Regions from separate parts of the Homo sapiens genome. Here region 2 is linked to region 1. Evidence: promoter capture Hi-C in human tissues and cell types (Jung and others, 2019). All regions are on one chromosome and are shown on one strand. Each heading gives the region's core, a stretch centred on a gene start or on the middle of the fragment in contact. The rest is flanking DNA. Distances are from core to core; before and after follow the strand shown. Region 1 holds the start of DNAH11 (dynein axonemal heavy chain 11). Region 2 overlaps SP4 (Sp4 transcription factor).

Evidence for each region. The method cuts DNA at HindIII sites, captures the fragments that hold promoters and counts their contacts. A contact is called where the count stands out against the background at its distance.
Region 2: a fragment that was not itself captured here is called in contact with the fragment with the promoter of DNAH11 in region 1 in 1 of the 25 tissues and cell types used here (neural progenitor cells).

What each region holds. Positions count from the first base shown.
Region 1 is chr7:21,541,588-21,545,279 of GRCh38, reverse strand. DNAH11 (dynein axonemal heavy chain 11) reads right to left here and starts at 2,241. Exons shown (of 82, transcript NM_001277115.2): 1 at 1,684-2,241; 2 at 131-274. The coding sequence starts at 2,034. RefSeq lists enhancers at 1-85, 2,418-2,919 and a silencer at 2,320-2,369. The HindIII fragment of the contact is 7,632 bases long and covers 1-3,692 here.
Region 2 is chr7:21,486,801-21,490,734 of GRCh38, reverse strand. The region is part of intron 5 of SP4 (Sp4 transcription factor); the gene reads right to left. Among named protein-coding and RNA genes, the nearest start is that of MIR1183, 18 kb to the right of the region's middle. The HindIII fragment of the contact is 6,302 bases long and covers 1-3,934 here.

The DNA of each region.
Region 1 (3,692 bases), core at 992-3,491:
TTTTTAACCACCCCCATCCCCTTCCCTTCCCCTCCTAGCTCTTCTTTTTTTAATTATCGGAGTTGTCCTAAATAATTTCAAATGTCATGGAGATAAGTGAAAGCTTTAAATATTAAAGACAGACCAGTACCTCATCAAGGAAAGCAGATACATGTCCAAGAGACAACGCAGGTAACTCTCCAAATAAAACCACTTGAGAAAAGTCATTTACTCCAATGCTTTCAGTAATCTTCTTGGAAATAAAAACAAGTTTATGGTTTGCATCTCTTGGAATCTAAAACAAGAGCAAGATAATTAGTTCAAGTAGTTTTCTTGTTAACAAGCAGGATTTACTATATCCAACTTGTAGCTGTATTGCTAGCAGAAGAAACAAAACCTGGCATCTTGCCTGCCCTATAAACAAGGTCCTTCTACGGCTCTTCCCTAGTATGCAGCGAGTATACAGTTTTCTTTGTTCTTTTATAATGCTAATTTCACAGCATTACTGGTGTGGAAATATCACCTTTTAAAGGCATGCCAATTATACCAGTTCATTATACACCAAAAAAAAAATCTTATAACTAAAAACAAATAAGGAGCACGTAGGCATGTAGAAATGTTTCAATCCTAAAGGGTTATTTTTTATACTCTTCTCTGGTTTGGAAATAAGCCAAACTGAGATAAAGACAAGCCCAAGAGGTTAATTTGTATTTCTATCAAAGAATAGAACCGTATAACCAAAACATGCTAACATTTCCACAACTACTGAGTCATTCCATTGAACATTATAATAACTATTTAACTTAGGTAATACTAGAGTTGTGTTCTATCGCCTTGTCTACTGACAAACTTATTTTTTTTAAAGTTACAATTAGGAGAGTCCTAAAACAAAAGAATTCAAAATTCACAATACCATAAGGCAGCCTTCCTATTACTCTTTCTTCTCTGAGATCCTATTTCCCAACTATTACAATGACCACACCTAGTGATAAAACGACATAACATGTTAAACTGAGCATTGCGCTACTTAAAAATTGTGAATCTTGCTCCAAACTCATCATACTTGAAAAATACTAAATACAAGTGCTGTACGTTAGGTGATACGTTAACCTTTTAGTGGACAAATCATCGAAATTCAAAAAGAAAAGGAAGAAAAAGAAGAAAGGAGGGAACTGTTCCCTCTAAATGTTCAGTAAACACCCATGTGTGCGGAGATTGCAGGGGCCTTCCTTTTTAAGGACTTAATGTTTTTGCCTGGGGTGAAGTGTTGTTGGCACGTAATCAAAATACGTGACGAGTTACATGCGCTCTGCCAAACACCCCATTTTTTAAAGGATGTGACTCCAGAGTGACCCAAGAGCAACTGAAACGCAAGTTTTTTGGCACAGAAAGCCCACCTGGCGCCTAACACCCAAGCAGCTAAAGAAAGCGCTGGTGTTCTTGGGTTATCCTGGTCGAACAGGCTCAACGCGGGATTCTCGGTCAGATACAAACTGCTGACTTAGGAAACTAACCTGCAGCTGCTGAACTGCAGAGTGGGTGCACGTGGGGAGGAGTCCTGCGGGCCTCAGGATGGGGACTTCAAGCCAAGTTTGTTAAAGTGCCCGAGTGAGCGCCCCGCGGGAATCCAAAGGGGAGCGACTGGGCTGTCTCCCCTGGGTAGTTTTGTTGGATGGGCAGGTCCCCTTGCCCGTCGCCTCTTACCTCCTGGGAAGCCGCAAGGCGCCCCGAGGCGGCGAAGCTAAACACAAGGCAAGCCGGGCTGGTGCTTTCCAGAAACTCCCCAAGAACCTGCCGGTTGTCCTCGCTTTCCAAATACTGGCTCCATTTCTCCTCCGTGAACCCCAGCATCATCGCCAGGCGGCCGCCGAGGAAGCGCACCCGCGCGTCTTGGGCGAAACTCCGCGCTCTCCTGGCCGCCGCCTCCTCCTCGTTCTCCTCCTCCTCCTCGAGCTCCACAGCGCCCACTGCCTCCAGGCCGGCCCCCGAGGTTAGGCGAAGGGTCGGGGCTTCTCTGAAGTCTCGCGCCTCCCGGGCTGCCACCTGGGCTGCCATTGGGCAACCGTCCGAGGGAACGCGAGGCCGGCTGGCTCCTCACCCGAGACTCTGGGCCCCCCGAAGTGAGCGAGGACACCTCCGCAGGCGCCCACCCTCCTCCGCGGTCGCCGCGAGCGCAGACCCTAGTCTCCCACCTGCTGCTACTTAGCAGCCGCGCCACTGCGCACAGCTGTAGCCTCGCAGGCCGAAGCGAAGGCCTGGGACAAGCAGCGCGTCCCGTTTCCCGGGGGACGGTGTCCCCGCCCCAGCCCGCTGGGGGCGGAGTGAGCGCACCGCGCCACCGCCCAGTATACGCCAAGGCCAAGGCCGAGGGGAGAGGCCCTCGGGCTCTAGGTCCCGAACACGGCCGAGAAGCCGCGTGTCCGGGGTGGGTCTGAGCCCCCAGTGCGCTCGCTCCACTGCCCTCCGGCTCCTTCGCCTACTGGACACTTGGTGGAGATCCCAGCATTGGTTAAGTGCTCTGGATGAAGCAATGCTCTCTTGTGCCAAGGTCCGTGCTAATCTCTTACCTTGACTAGTTGACATAATCCGTAGAAAGCCAAGTCTCTGACTGGTCAGTCTTTGTTTTATGGGCAAGGAACTAAGTTACAAAAATAAGTAACAGAGAAGTTTCGGGGCCCAAGTTGAAGGCTGTTATTCACCTTTCCCAAGGTGTCCAAATATTACCAGAAGAGAGCCAGTCCTGCAATTCAACTTTCCTAGTTGTGGGAATCCAAGATCTAAGTATTCGAAGTCCTCCTGATTGCCATCCTCAACCTGAAACTTACTGGAACTTCAGTACACCCAGTAAGAGAACGCACAGTGCCCTTTCGTGATCTCCAAAATGTTCCGAAAATCTATAGATTTATCATTTAATTCAAGAGTAAAAAGGTCAAAGAGAAAAAGCTTCAGATTAAAAACAGTTTCATGATACTGAAATAGGATTTCACTGCGGTCCATTAGTGGCTTTCGTTGAGACTCTTATGGAAATTCTAATTATTAAAGCAACCAGAATTTTGAGGAGGAGTCCTCAACTAAACTTTTAAGTCTCCTTTGTTAATTGTTTATTTCAAACTAAAGTCTTCAATCCCCACCCCTTCCATGGGGGCTACTGAAGGACTGTTGCCCACAATAATCCATTTAATACCTGAATGTTGACAGACATTTCCAGAAGATGAGGCTTCAACAATTTTTTTCTTTGCAGGATATTAACTGCCCCTGAAAACCATCGACAAGTTTCCAGTTATGTGATCAGAATCTTGAAATAACACAGGGCCTTGGAAAACTTTGATAATGACTTCTAACCTGTCAAGGCTGCTTTATATTGTCCATAATAATCTTTGGGGCTCCCAGTTGCTGGTATACAAGGCTGGCAATCACCAGTTCCTTCTCTCCCCTCTTATATTCCAGCTTCACATCCCTGTAACCTAGAAAACCGGGAATTCTGTAAATAATAGTTGAATTAAATTGAAAGTGAATAACCACTTTCAAATCTAGCAGGAAAATTTTTTAAATGATGCTAACTTTAAAGTGCAATTTCCAAAAAGTTAACTATGTAACTCGAAATATAAGATGAAGATATGTCAAAGATTGATTTAACTCATAAATGAGGAAAGCAACAAAATGATGTAAGTTCCAAGGACAGTTCGAGAAAGAAATTTAGCAGCATTGGAGGA
Region 2 (3,934 bases), core at 840-3,339, 54 kb after region 1:
GTGCATGCAATGCTCAAGGTTGAGCCCAGTGCAAGGTTGAACCCAGGACTTCTTTTGATCTACACACAGAATTAGGAAGCATCTTTTATATCGCTCTCAAAATTTCCCCTATGCCTTTCCAACCTCCAGTTGTCTCACCTTCTAGTTCCTCCGGCTAGAAAAGCCAAGTTACTGGGGGCTCCCATAATGTTCTGCACTTACACCACGACTGGGACCACCTTCAGAGTAGAAGTGGCAAGACAGAAAAATGATGTTGATTTACCTCAGATTTCTTGGAAAACAGACTCTATTTTCTAGTTCCCCTAGCCAGAGATATGGGTATTTTCTAGAGATTTTTTGGTGCCTAAGCTGCTACTATTTCAGTGTAATCTGCAAATGGAACTGGTTTTGGAGCAAAAGGCCCCTTTTCTTGCTTTTCTGGTTAGATACAAGAGGTTTCTCTTAGATTGTTTGCTACCTGCACCTGCTATGCAGTGCCCGCAGGGTTAAACCTGGGAGACAAAGGAGGGAAAAAGATCTCTATGAAATGAACACATATGATACACTGTTATTCAAATTCAAGTTTTCACTTCATTTCTCAATTGCCTGCTATAGTTTGCTTTTCATTGTCCTCATTTAGATACTTAAGAAAACAAATAAGTAAACTTGTCCAGAGTTTTTAGTGTAGTCAATGGAACAGACAAGTTGTAGATAACTTGGTCCATTCTGGCCAACAGTGGACACAAAGGGCAACAGTTTTGATGTTTCACATACTAATTAAAACATTTATATAAGAAAATTCTGGGGCTGGGCACTGTGGCTCACACCTATAATCCCAGCACTTTGAGAGGCTGAGGTGGGAGGATCACTTGAGGATAGGAGTTTAACGCCAGCCTGGGGCTGGGCACAGTGGCTCACGCCTGTAATCCCAGCACTTTGGGAGGCCGAGGCGGGTGGATCCAAGGTCAGGAGATTGAGATCATCCTGGCTAACACAGTGAAACCCCATCTCTACTAAAAATACAAAAAATTAGCCGGGTGTGGTGGCGGGCGCCTGTAGTCCCAGCTACTCGGGAGGCTGAGGCAGGAGAATGGCATGAACCCAGGAGGCGGAGCTTGCAGTGAGCCAAGATCATGCCACTGCACTCCAGCCTGGGTGACAGAGCGAGACTCCATCTCAAAAAAAAAAAAAAAAAAAAAAAAGAAAAAAGAAAAAAAGACCAGCCTGGGCAACATAGCAAAAACCCACCTTTAAAAAAAAAAAAAAATTAGCTAGGTGTAGTGGTGTAGGCCTGCAAGTCCCAGCTACTCAGGCAGCTGAGGTGGGAGGACTGCTTGAGCCCAGGAGGTCAAGGCTGCCGTGAGCTATGATCACATCACTGCGTTCTGGCCTGGGTGACATGGTCTCAGCAACAACAACAACAACAAAATTCTGTGAGAAAACTTCAACGAAATTGATGGAGTTTTCTGTTTCATCTGTTTTGATCAAATATTCCTTATTTTGTTAAAAAAATTGAAGTTTCATTCCCAAATGAATTTTACAGAATCTGTTTCATTTCCACTTAAGCTTATAATTATTGATACAATTATAAATACATTTAACTTTATATAAAATTGTATCTTGGCTAAAACACTAAGTCGTCATATATTATAAAGAACCTATACTGCAGTTGCACAAGACTTTTTAGGGGCTCTTTTGAAAAGGATTTTTTCTTAGCTGGTGAAAAAGAATTTGAGATCTGGTTAAAGATCCCTATAACACTAGTTGCTAAAAATCATCCCTAGATTGCCTTACTTCTAAGTGGATTATGAATGGCAAATAAAACAGTCCAGTAAGTAGGCAAAGTATCTACAATAAAATATTCACAAAGTACACTATATTAACACATGTAACATAAAAGTGTGCATATCTATATGACATCGTTATTATAGACATTATCCATTTAGTTGTATCATTATAGTATTTCCAAGTTATCAGTATTTTTTTTTTAAGAGACGGGGTCTTGTTATATTGCCCAGGCTGGAGTGCAGTGGCTATTCACGGGATCATAGGCACTATAGCCTCGAACTCCTAGCACAAGCAGTTCTCCCGCCTCAGCCTCCTGAGTAGCTGGGACTATAGGTGTGCACTACTGCACCTGGCTAAATGTAACCCTTTAAAGTTTAAGAGAGCAGCATGATTACATGTGTTTGTTTATTCTCCCCACTGAGACACCCATTAAAATAATAGTAAAGGCATAAAAGGGTTAAATCTACAATAACAAAAAAAAAAAAAAAGGAAAGGAAGTCCATCAGCAAAACAATGATTATATCAAATGTCTGCAAACTAGAAAATAAATTGTCAAGGAAGAGAATATGTTCTAGAAGACAGTCAATGTCTTCTGCTGGGAGGGAGACATGGAACATAAAACAAAATTAAAGTCCATACATAGACTATAACTACTATCAAAAAATTGGGGCAAAATGTTAATATTAAAGATTTGTATCTTAAAAAAACATGGTTGCACAGCATATTATTGTATTTTGGTAATTAGGCATCTTCCAGTGTAACACAGTGTTCCACCCAGTTACCTAAAATAAAAGCCACTAGCTTGGCAGAGGCAGTGGCTCACACCTATAATCCCAACACTCCAGGAGGCTGAGGAGGATGGATTGCTTGAGCTCAGGAGTTCAACACCAGCCTGGGCAACACTGAGAAAAATCTGTCTCTGCAAAAAATAGAAAAATTAGCCAGGTGTGGTGGCATGCACCTGTGGTCCCAGCTACTCGGGAGGCTGAGGTGTGAGGATCACTTGAGCCTGGGAGGTGGAGGAGGTTGCAGTGAGCTGTGATCGTGCCAGTGAACTCCAGCCTGGTGACAGACAGAGACCCTGTCTCAAAAAAACCAAAACAAAACGCCACTAGCTCATAAAGTTTTCAAAATCTTTCACTTAAGATTTCATCAAATCACCACCATGACCACCACCACCACCACCACCACCACCACCACCACCATCATCATCATCATCATCATCAACTTGAACAAAAACAAAGAATCACTGGACAATTCAGGAACGCCTACAACACTGGAAAAAGATACAGACAAAAAAATCATCCTGGAGGAAACATAAAATTCTAGATTAAAAAACTGAGATAATTTCAGCAAGCACCTGCATCCATACAATGAGAACAAAATGCAGTAAAACAAAACAAAACCCACCAACAATGATGGAATACACTATTGGAAATTAAAATGCAATTCAATAGAAATATCTGAAAGTAAACTTAAAAAATTTCATGGAAAATAAAATGGTAATGAGACAAAAGATATAAGAGAAAAACTGTAAGACCAAAAAAAAAAAAAAAACCCTAGAGATTCCAAAATATGTCTACTAAGAGCCCAGAGAGACAGAGAGAGAGAGACAGAGAAAGAGAGAGAGAGGGAGAGAGGTGACCCAGAGTACAAGTCATTAGCACAACAAATAAAAATCTATTCTCAGATACAGCATTATGAAATTAGCAGCACACCACAGATTAAAAGGCGCCCTTAGCGTTAAAAACAAAACAGGGGCACTTCAAGAAGACACAGGAACTAATGTGAAAGACCTTCCAATGGCCAAAGGTGAAACAATTTGAGCAAGAAAATGATAGTATTGAATTATAACCCAAAGAACAAAAGAACTACTCATGAGACCATACCAATGTAAATAAATGATTGCATAAATAATTGGAGAAGAAAGTATAAGTGGTACAAAGAACAAGGAAAATTGAAAATGACCTTTCAAACATCACAGTAATAACTGCTGCAGGCAAGATCCACTGAGGAATGCTAAAAGTGAAGCTTTAGTATTTTATTTGTAAAAAAGCCCCCCAAACTCCTCTAAAATAGTAATTATTGTGGTGGTTTTAACATATGTCCACAAATTCTTCGATACTTCTCCCTTCAGGAGGTGAAGCTTAGTTCTCTTCCCCCTGAA